Regions from separate parts of the Homo sapiens genome. Here regions 2 and 3 are each linked to region 1. The links are contacts of gene promoters, found by promoter capture Hi-C in human tissues and cell types (Jung and others, 2019). All regions are on one chromosome and are shown on one strand. Each heading gives the region's core, a stretch centred on a gene start or on the middle of the fragment in contact. The rest is flanking DNA. Distances are from core to core; before and after follow the strand shown. Region 1 holds the start of DOCK3 (dedicator of cytokinesis 3). Region 2 overlaps DOCK3 (dedicator of cytokinesis 3). Region 3 overlaps DOCK3 (dedicator of cytokinesis 3).

What was found. Contacts are between HindIII fragments. The study calls those that stand out against the background at their distance.
Region 2: a contact is called between a fragment that was not itself captured here and the fragment with the promoter of DOCK3 in region 1, in 1 of the 25 tissues and cell types used here (dorsolateral prefrontal cortex).
Region 3: a fragment that was not itself captured here is called in contact with the fragment with the promoter of DOCK3 in region 1 in 3 of the 25 tissues and cell types used here (H1 embryonic stem cells, dorsolateral prefrontal cortex and mesendoderm cells).

What each region holds. Positions count from the first base shown.
Region 1 is chr3:50,673,375-50,676,483 of GRCh38, forward strand. DOCK3 (dedicator of cytokinesis 3) reads left to right here and starts at 1,553. Exons shown (of 53, transcript NM_004947.5): 1 at 1,553-1,926. The coding sequence starts at 1,890. It overlaps MIR4787 (microRNA 4787), which reads left to right and starts at 1,706; the gene lies at 1,706-1,789. RefSeq lists a silencer at 1,517-1,806. The HindIII fragment of the contact is 18,901 bases long and covers 1-3,109 here.
Region 2 is chr3:50,891,553-50,895,032 of GRCh38, forward strand. All of the region lies in intron 4 of DOCK3 (dedicator of cytokinesis 3), which reads left to right. Among named protein-coding and RNA genes, the nearest start is that of MIR4787, 220 kb to the left of the region's middle. The HindIII fragment of the contact is 4,411 bases long and covers 1-3,480 here.
Region 3 is chr3:50,907,886-50,911,305 of GRCh38, forward strand. All of the region lies in intron 4 of DOCK3 (dedicator of cytokinesis 3), which reads left to right. Among named protein-coding and RNA genes, the nearest start is that of MIR4787, 230 kb to the left of the region's middle. The HindIII fragment of the contact is 3,969 bases long and covers 1-3,420 here.

The DNA.
Region 1 (3,109 bases), core at 303-2,802:
GTTCCCTGAAGGCCTGCGTAGCTCAGCCCCACTTGTTGAATAGCTACCTGGAGAGTTTTGTAAGAATGTGGCTTCATTCCATAGAATACTTCCATGGTGGCCACCGGGGAGGGGTCTATCTTCTTGGAACAGTTAGCTCTTTCGTTATGTTCTTGGACACCCCTGCTACCCCTAAAAAGAAGTGTACCTGGCTATTGAGAAATTCTATCATTCACAGAACAGACATTTTTCTGGGCGGGAGTGGGCAGCTATGATTAGTGAGAGGAGGAGCCTAAAGGTCCGAAGGTGGGAAGGGGTGGCCATAACCCAGGGGAGCACAGTCAGGCCTGGGAGGAGTTACCAATCATGACACTTTGAACGAAGAATCAACAAGATCTGTTGATTGCAAGATATTCTTCTATTAGTCTGGCTTCCCATGCAACAACTATACAACAGGTGCTGGGTTGGTGGTGAGGGTTTAGAAAGTTGATTTTAGCCTGGAGCTTGCCTTCTGGGAGCTGACAGTCTTATAAGGGAAATAAGACAAACCGAACATAGCTCCAATTCCAGACAAAGAAGGAAAGGAGACTATGGGTCAGGGCAGGCTTCCTGGAGGTGAGGGGCTGAGCTGGGCTTTGAAGAGTGGTGGTGTCTGAGAGTGCTAGTGAAGGATGACACCAGGGTTTTGACTTAGTAGTGCTAGTGACAGAGATGGGCAAATCTGCTGGGATTAGAGCATGTGGTCCAAATGTAGGTGGAAAGGAGAAGTCCTGCAGTTCCTGTTCTTTGGTAAGTGGTTGACTTGGGGGTCACAAGGTGACATTTACAGGCATCAGAATGAATGGATTCTTAGGGAGGAGAGAGAGGAGGAAAGTTTCCGGTAGGAGCCAGTTCTTAGGGCTCCAAGGGAGGCAGACACCCAGGAGCAGCAGATGCCGTGTCCTGGGTAGGAACACGAAGGGCCCAATGAAGCTCTTCCTTACTAGCAAGGCGGCTGTTGATTGTTCTGGCCCCAAACATTCACCACTCAGGCCATCTCAGAGAAGCAAGAACCCAGGAGGTGTCAGCGGCCTCAGCCCACAGGGGATCCAGGAGAGAGGGGCACGAGTGCACCCCACCTGGTTCCCTCGTGGCGACTCCATCCTGCGGGCCCTGGGAATGCACAGGGTGGCTCCGGGGACCTTTCCGACAGCACTGTGGGTGACACTGGGATGGGTCTGAAAATGGTGTCGTGTCCTCCTTTTCTGGATCTCCCCTCTCCGACCAGGAGGCCTGTGGCCATCTCGGGGCGCAGGCAGGAGGCACTGGAAGCGGAAGCGAGTGGGGAGTCCGGGTAGAGGGAGTCGCCCACCTGACCGGCTTCGCCCCCTCCGGGGTTTGCTGCAGCTGAGGGCCCCGGACCAGCGATTCTAGAAGCCGGTCCGGGGCCGGGCAGTCCAATAGCTTCTCGCGGATTTCCCTCCGCTGGCGCGCAGCAGCGGCGCGTGGATTCGCGCGCGGGCTCGGGACGGCGCGAGCCCGGGCAGCGCGAGCCCCTGCGCGGCAGGGAGTGGCGCATGCGCGGGCGTCCTGCGAGCCCGCTGGGGCGAGCCGAGCCGCGGCGGCGCCGGGAGCCGGGCGGCGGAGCTGTGAAGAAGCAAGCGGCGGCACGGGAGCAGCGGCGACGGACAGGTGGCGAGCCTTCGCCCGCGCCGCCAGGGGCTGCTGGGCCACCCGCGGAGCCTCGCGGTCCAGACGTGGCGGGGGTGGCGGCGGCATCCCGGACGGCCTGTGAGGGATGCGCCGCCCACTGCCCCGCGCCGCCTGACCGTCCCCGCCTCGACTCGCGGTGCGCCACAGCCGGGCCCGCGGCCGTCCCCGCCGCGTTGTCGCCCGGTCGCCGCGCCCGCGGGGCCGCGCCCGGCACGGCCATGTGGACCCCCACGGAGGAGGAGAAATACGGCGTAGGTAGGTGAGGCTCAGGCCTGGCCGTGGCGGGGGTTCTGGGGGACGCGCCCAGCTCCCGGCCCCGCCTGGATTCGCATCCTCGTGCCCCCGCCACTGCCCGCAGGCTGCGCGGCCTCGGCGCGGGGCGAGCGCGGGGTGGGGGCAGGTGCGGGTGCGGGTGCGGGTGCGGGGGTGGGCGCGGGTCTCTGTGCAGAGAGGGCGGCAGGGGGCGCTGGCGGTGCGGCCTTGGCAGGTGCGGCCCGCGGGAGGGGTGGGCAAGGCCCGGGCAGTTGCCCGAGGTTTCTGGTGTGGGCCACGGGGCAATTTTACCCGATAAACCAAATTCTGGGAATATGTTTTCTCCCCTCCAAAAGCTCGATTTTAATGAGTTTCCGCACCTGAATTGATGAGCCCGATGGCTGTTTATTTTTGATCTGGAACCTTACAAGAAAACGGATGAAAAACGTTGACATCATTTTCCCAGTTCAAAAATTTGGACATTTGACTGCAAATGTTTGATCTGTTTTAATTTGTTTTGCCTTTAGTATTAGAAATAATACCTTACGATGGGAAATGTTTTTGGACATGTATCAATGTTTATACGGTTTTTTTTTTAAACCCTGTTTTCAGATGAGACCTTATTCCTCTTAGAAACCTTTTTTTAATGTTGTAAGTGTTAAACTCCAGAAGCTAAATAATTCTTACAATATTCAACTTCTTTAAAAAGAATATTCAGTAATTTAAAGTATTGAATGTTTTACAATGTTAGTGTTTTGTGGCAATTACATGATAGAGTTAAGCCTCATTGCATCACCTATCATCTTGTTCAGTTAGAAACAGATTTAAAATGTTGAGTGTACAGGTTTTGTTTTTCCTAAGCTCGTAATGGAAAATTTTAGATAGGAAACCTGTCTAAACATAGATTTTTGTTTCCCATCTTTACCGCAATTTAATCAAGATTTAGTTCACAATTCACTACAAAATAACTTGAAACTGCAGTGGTAACGAATGTTTTGGAATGCTATCAGGCAGGTTATCGTGTGAAAATTGAATTTATTTAAATTCGAGGACCAGCAGAGAGGTCTTCTATTCTGGTAGAAGATCTTGTTTTAAAAGGTAACTTTCTGAAACAATTAGGTATGTTAGGATGGAGGTGATAAAGGGAGCTCTGGTCCTAGAGTCTCTATTGAGAAGGAATTGAGAA
Region 2 (3,480 bases), core at 657-3,156, 220 kb after region 1:
TGTGGGAAAAGGAAAAGAGAGTATTTCGACTTGGGATTAGCAAAGTATATATTTTGGAAAGTGCTAAAAACATTTTCTGAATGTGAATGGCTTATTATAAATTCAGAAGTAATATCCTTTATTTATCAGTAATGAGGCTGATCAGAGCTGAAAGTGGGCAGAAGCTGTGAGGGACCAAGGTGAGAAAAGGAGATATAGATGAAATCTAGGGATGCAGAAATAGAGTGCCTTAGAAAATACTAGCAAAGTCATACACTTTCTGATGATGAGGAACTTATCCTAAGTTTATGAGTCATATGTCCCATTTATAATAGTTATAAAGGACATTGGGGAGCACTTTGCTAGCAGAAGAATCCCTACCTGGATTCAGTTTGCCTCAGGAAAGTAGAAGTGATGTGGCTGTACATAAAATTACACACAGAGCAGCCATATTTGCTGGAAGTGGGATATAAATCTTAGAAAGCTATTTGGAATTGACCTCCATATCCAAATGTCCAATAAGTTGATGGTCCACAATAAGAATTCTAAAATCTGGAGAAAATATTAAAAAACAATTGTCTGCAGGCACTGGAGAACAATTGGTTGGGCAAGATCTTGAGAGGCTATGATCTTTGAAGGAAGGGATGCACACAAGGAGAGCTTCATGTTTACTTTGGCCTTTTTCTCCAGATAATTTTTCATTTACTGTGTTGTAGTGGAATAGAGCCCAACCAGAAAATAGTAGTCTTTCATGACATCAGCAATTTGGCAGAATAAGAAGTTTCAGCTCTCATCCCCCTACAGAAACACAGATTTAACAATGGTATACCAAGAAAAATACCTTTATAAGAGGTCCAGTATCCAGTGAAGAAGTCGCAGTACTCCAGAGGAGCACAAAACAGAGTAGACACGTTGAAATGGCTAAGAAGAGCAATTTCACTCTTACCTTTGTCAGTCCCTTCTCCCAGCTGGTTAAGAGAGAATTTGTCCCAGATTGTGACTCTTCCAGTGGGGCAAAGAAAAAGAGGACTGTACATCAAACATCTCTAGCATTTGTGGGTGCTGCTTGAATGACCTCTTTCTATCCCACCTCACCCAGAGTGCTGGAGTAGCCAGCATAATTTAAACATGCAGGGGAAGCTAAGAACAAAGAAAAGGAGTGAGAGGCTCACTGCAGCTAGCTTGCCTCTGCAAGATCGGGAAAAGTGCACAACCCTAAGATTTCTGCAGGAGGGAGGGTGAGGAGTGGGAGCAATATCCCATCATTTCAATGCATCACTCTAGAAAAAAGTGGAGGGCAGGCAACTGTGGCCAGTAGAGCTCTGGAGGGTTGGGAGAAGATGCATATCTGTGAGTCTTCTCCCTCAGAAGGGAAAGGAAGAATGAAGCATACATCCTGGAATTTTAGAGTACTGCCACAGGGAAAAGAGATGGGCAGCTTACTGTGGCCATCATTTCTTTGAGAGATTGGGAGAAGGCACAGAACCCTGAGACTCTCAGGCTGGATGGAGGAATGAAGTGCGTACATTCATAGAAAAGGTTTGACAGGTTCCCAGAATCTGAGTTGGGCTGATTGGTGAGGGTCTTTGTCTATTGAAGTCAGTCCATAAAGACCGGGAGAAGTGGTTGTTTCTTCAAATGTGCAGGCCCCAAAGCAAAGCTGCAAGGAAGATGAAGGATCGGGAATACATGACACAATCAAAGGAACAAAATAAATATTCAATAACAGACCCTAAAGAAAAGGAGTTCTATGAATTGCCCTCAAGACAACTCAAAATAATAGTCTTAAAGATTACTTAACTAAATGAGTTACAAGAGAATACAGGCAACTAAATTAAATGAGGAAAATGAAAAGTGAAAATAATGAGAATACCAACAAAGAGATAGAAACCATAAGAAAGCAAAGAATCAAACATAAATTCTGGAGCTGAAGAATACAATAAGTAATATGAAAATTGTATGGAGAACTTCAACAGCATTCTTGATCAAATAGAGGAGCGAGTCAACTTGAAGATAGGTCATTTGAAATGATCCATTCAGAGAATCAGAAAGGAAAAAGAGGGAAGAAATCCTAAGAAACTAATGGGACACCATCAAGCAAACCAATATGCTCAATATGGAATTATCACACGTGGGGCAGGAGAGAGAGGAAGAGGGAGAGCAAGGAAAAGAAAGGAGCAGGAAACTTATTTAAAGAAACAATGGCTGAAAACTTCCCAAATCTGGGGAGGGAAATGAACATTGATCCTTGAAGTCCAAACAACCCCTTTAAGATGTTCATGTCCTTTGTAGGGACATGGATGAAGCTGGAAGCCATCATTCTCAGCACAGTATCACAAGGACAAAAAACCAAACACCGTGTGTTCTCATTCATAGGTGGGAACTGAATAATGAGAACATTGGGACACAGGAAGGGGAACATCACACACCGGGGCCTGTCGTTAGGTGAGGGGAGGGGGGAGGGGGGAGGGATAGCATTAGGAGATATACCTAATGTAAATGACGAGTTAATGGGTGCAGCACACCAACATGGCACTTGTATACCTATGTAACAAACCGGCACGTTGTGCACATGTACCCTAGAACTTAAAGTATAATTAAAAAAACAGGAATCCAAAGAAATCCATGCTGAGATGCATTGTGGTCAAATTGTCAAAAGTCAAAGAGAATTTTGAAAGCAGCAAGATGAAAAGGACTTGTCTTATATAAGAGAGCCTCCATAAATCTGCTATCAGCAGATTTCTCCGCCAAAACCTTGTAGGCCAGAAGGGAGCAGGATGATATATTTAAAATACTGAAGGAAACAAAAAAAACCCTGTCAACCAGTACCCAGCAAAACTGTCCTTCAGAAATGAAGTAGAGAGAAAGGCTTTCCCAGATAAACAAAAGCTGAGGGAGTTCATCACCAGTAGATTTGCCTTATAAAAAATGCTGAAAGGAGTTCTTTAAGTTGAAACAAAATGATGCTATACAGCAACATGAAAGCATACAAAAGTATACAATTCACAGGCAAAGGCAAATATATACACATATACAGAATATTTGAATACTGTAAAGATAGTATATAAATAATTTTAGTATAAGAGTTAAAAGACAAGTATTAAGAATAACTATAACTACAAAAACTTGTTAGTAGATGCACAATATAAAATATGTAAATTGTGTCATCAACAATAAAACATTTGTTGAGGGAATTAAAATTGTCAGGTTTTTGTTTTTGATTTTTTTTTACAGCATGCAAATCTTTTAAGTTTAGCAAATCTTAATTTTAAGGGAACTATGAATAGTGATTGGTTCTGTTTACATAGTTGGTTAATTAAGCTTTATTCTTATATATTCTTCCCATCTGTTAGGTCACACAGTTCTTGAGCGTTAAAACAATGTTCTGTTGAATTCTAGGTCTCCCAGCTGTATTTGACTATTTGGTTACAATTCCAAATTGTTATTCTGACTGCTAAGTGATTTACTTTCAAAGTATTGCTCCAGTAATGTTAAAGGTGT
Region 3 (3,420 bases), core at 653-3,152, 230 kb after region 1:
CTCAATTTCAGAGCTTGTTGTTGGTCTATTCAGAGATTCAGTTTGTTCCTGGTTCAGTCTTGGGAGGGCATATGCATCCAGTCATTTATTCATTTCTTCTAGATTTTCTAGTTTATGGGCATAGAGATGTTCATAGTATTCTCTATTGGTGGTTAGTATTTCTGTGCGATCAGCAGTGATATCCCTGTTATCATTAATAATTGTGTCTATTTGATTCTCATTTTTATTATGTGTGTAGCTAGCGGTCTATTTTATTAATTTTTTCAAAAAACCATCTTCCAGATTCATTGATTTTTTTTTTTTTTGAAGGGCTTTTTTTTTTTTTCATCTCAATTTATTTCACGTCTGCTCTGATCCTGGTTATTTCTTGCTTTCTACTAGCTTTGTGGTTTCTTTGCTCTTGATTCTACAGTTCTTTTAGTTGTGATGTTAGGCTGCTCATTTGAGATCTTTCTGGCTTTTTGATGTGGACATTTAGTGTTATAAACTTGTGTCTTAACCCTGCTTTAGCAGCATCCCAGAGATTCTGTTACATTGTCTCTTTGTTCTCATTATTTTCAAAGAACTTCTTGATTTCTGCCTCAATTATTCACCCAGTAGTCAATTCAGGAACAGGTTGTTCAGTTTCCTTGTAGTTGTGAGGGTTGGAGTGAGTGTCTTAACATTGAGTTCTAATTTGATTGTGCTGTCATCTGAGAGACTGTCTTGATTTTAGTTCTTTTGCATTTGCTGAGGTGTGTTTTACTTCTGATTATGTGATCTATTTTAGAGTAAGTGCCATGTGGCAATCAGAAGAATGTATATCCTGTTGGTATTGGTTGGAGAGTTCTGTAGATATCGATCAGGTTCGCTTGATCCAGACCTTAGTTCAGGTCCTTAATATCTTTGTTAATTTTCTGTCTCGATGATCTAATATTGTCAGTGAGGTTTTAAAGTCTCCCACTATTATTTTGTGGGAGTCTAAGTCTCTTTGTAGGTCTCTAAGAGCTTGCTTTATGAATCTGGGTGCTGCTCTATTGGGTGCATATGTATTTAGGTTATTTAGCTCTTTCTATTGAATTGAACCTTTTATCATTATGTAATGCCCTTCTTTGTCTTTTTTGATATTTGATAATGTAAAGTCTGTTTTGTCAGAAAGTAGGATTGTGATCCCTGCTTTTTTTTTGTTTTCCATTTGCTTGGTAAATTTTCCTCCATCTCTTTATTTTGAGCCTATGTATGTCTTTGCACGTGAGATGGGTCTCCTGAAGACGGCATACCAATGGTCTTAACTTTTTATCCATCTTGCCATTCTGTGTCTTTTAATTGGGGCATTTAGCCCATTAACATTTAAGTTTAATACTGTTATGTGTGAATTTGATCGTGTCATCATGGTGTTAGCTGGTTATTTTGCAGGCTTGTTCATGTGGTTGTTCATAGTGTCACTGTTCTTCTGTGTACTTCAGTGCGTTTTTGTAGTGGCTAGTAATGGTCTTTCCTTTCCATATGGAGTGCTTCCTTCAGGAGCTCTTGCAAGGCAGGCGTGTTGATGAATTCCCTCAGCATTTGCTTCTTTGAAAAGGATCTTATCTCTTCTTCGCTTATGAAGCTTAGTTTGGCCAGATGTGAAATTCTGGGTTGGAAATTTTTTTAAGAATGTTGAATATTGGCTTCCAATCTCTTCTGGCTTGTAGGGTTTCCACTGAGGGGTCTGCTGTTATTCTGGTGGGCTTTCCTTTGTAGATGACCTGTCTTTTTTCTCTGGCTACCCTTAACGTTTTTTTTTTTTTTTTTTTCATTTTGACCTTGGAGAATCTGATGATTATGTGTCTTGGGGTTGATCTTCTTGTGGAGTATCTTACTGAGGTTCTCTGGATTTCTTGAATTTGAATGTTGGCCTGTCTTGCTTGGTTGGGGAAGATCTCCTGGATGATATCCTGAAGTATGTTTTCCAACCTAGTTCTGTTCTCTCCATCTCTTTCAGGTAACTCAATCAGTTGTAGGTTTGGTCTTTTTATGTAATCCCATATATCTCAGCGGTTTTGTTCATTCCTTTTCATTCTTTCTTCTCTATTCTTGTCTGCCTGTATTATTTCAGAAAGATCGTCTTCAAGCTTTGATATTCTTTTCTCTGCTTGGTCTGTTCTGCTATTGGTACTTGTGATTGCATTGTGAATTTCCTGTGTTTTACTTTTAGCTTCATCAGGTCAGTTATGCTCCTTTCTAAAATGGCTATTCTCATTATCAGCTCTTATATTGTTTTTTCATGATTGTTAGCTTCTTTGCATTGGGTTAGGACATGCTCCTTTATCTCAGTGAAGTTCATTATTACCCACCTCCTGAAGCCTGCTCCTGTCATTTCAGCCATCTCAGCCTCAGACCAGTTCTGTGCTCTTGCTGGAGAGGTATTGCAGTCATTTGGAGAAGAAAAGGCACTCTGGCTTTTTGAGTTTCCAGCATCACCCCTCCTTACACTCTAGGCAGTGCAGCTCAGGGAGAGATCTTTTCCACTGGTGACACAATCATTCCTTTGGCTGCCCCATCTCATGTGTCACTGGGTCATGTGCACCCCAAGTCCAGCAGCTCTTAGCCCAGCACAGCCCCAGGACTTGTCCAATGACTGCAGTCCTTTTGGCCTAGACTGCATTTCAAATTTGTTCAGAACCCAGGGGCACTTTAGTGAACTGGTGGTGGGGCTAGCCACCACTCAGGTGCCTACTGCTGGGGTGTAAGATTACCCTCTGGCTGAAGGTGCTCTAAGAGCCCACTCCATGGGCATTGGCCAAATTCTGCCTTGTGTTATGTTCTGCTGTGATAAGGAATCACTGAGTTCCAATGCAAAGCCCCACAGTCACTTTGTTCTCCCTCCCCCAAGTACACAGATTGTCTCTCCATGTGCTGATGGTGGATGGGGATTGGTGGTGTAGGCAATGTGAGTCAGTCTTTCTTATCTCTTCAATGCTTCTTTCCTTGATATCATGTTAAAACCAGGTGCTCTGTCCACTCACCTCTAATTTTTAGTTCTTAAGAAGGTGCTTTCTTGCATGGATGGTTGTTCAATTTGGTGTTCCTGCAGAGGATGATTGCTGGAGGGTTCTATTTGGCCATCTTGCTATGCCTTCCCTCATTTGTCTGTTTTTTTTTTGGATTGTCTTTTTGCTGTGGAATTGAGTTCATTATATATGGTGGTTATTAATCCTTTGTCACATGAATAGTTCGCAAATATTTCCCCCTTTCTATAGGTTGTCTTTTCACTTTCTTGATTGCCTCTTTATCCGTGCAGAAGCTTTTTAGCTTGTTATCATCCCATTTGTCTGTTTTTGCTTTTGTTATTTTTCCTTTGAGGTCTCGCTCCAAAAATCTTTGCCCAGACAAATGTGCTGAGAATTTTCCCTATGTTTTCTTCTAGTGGTATCATAGTTTCAAGTCTTACATTTAAGT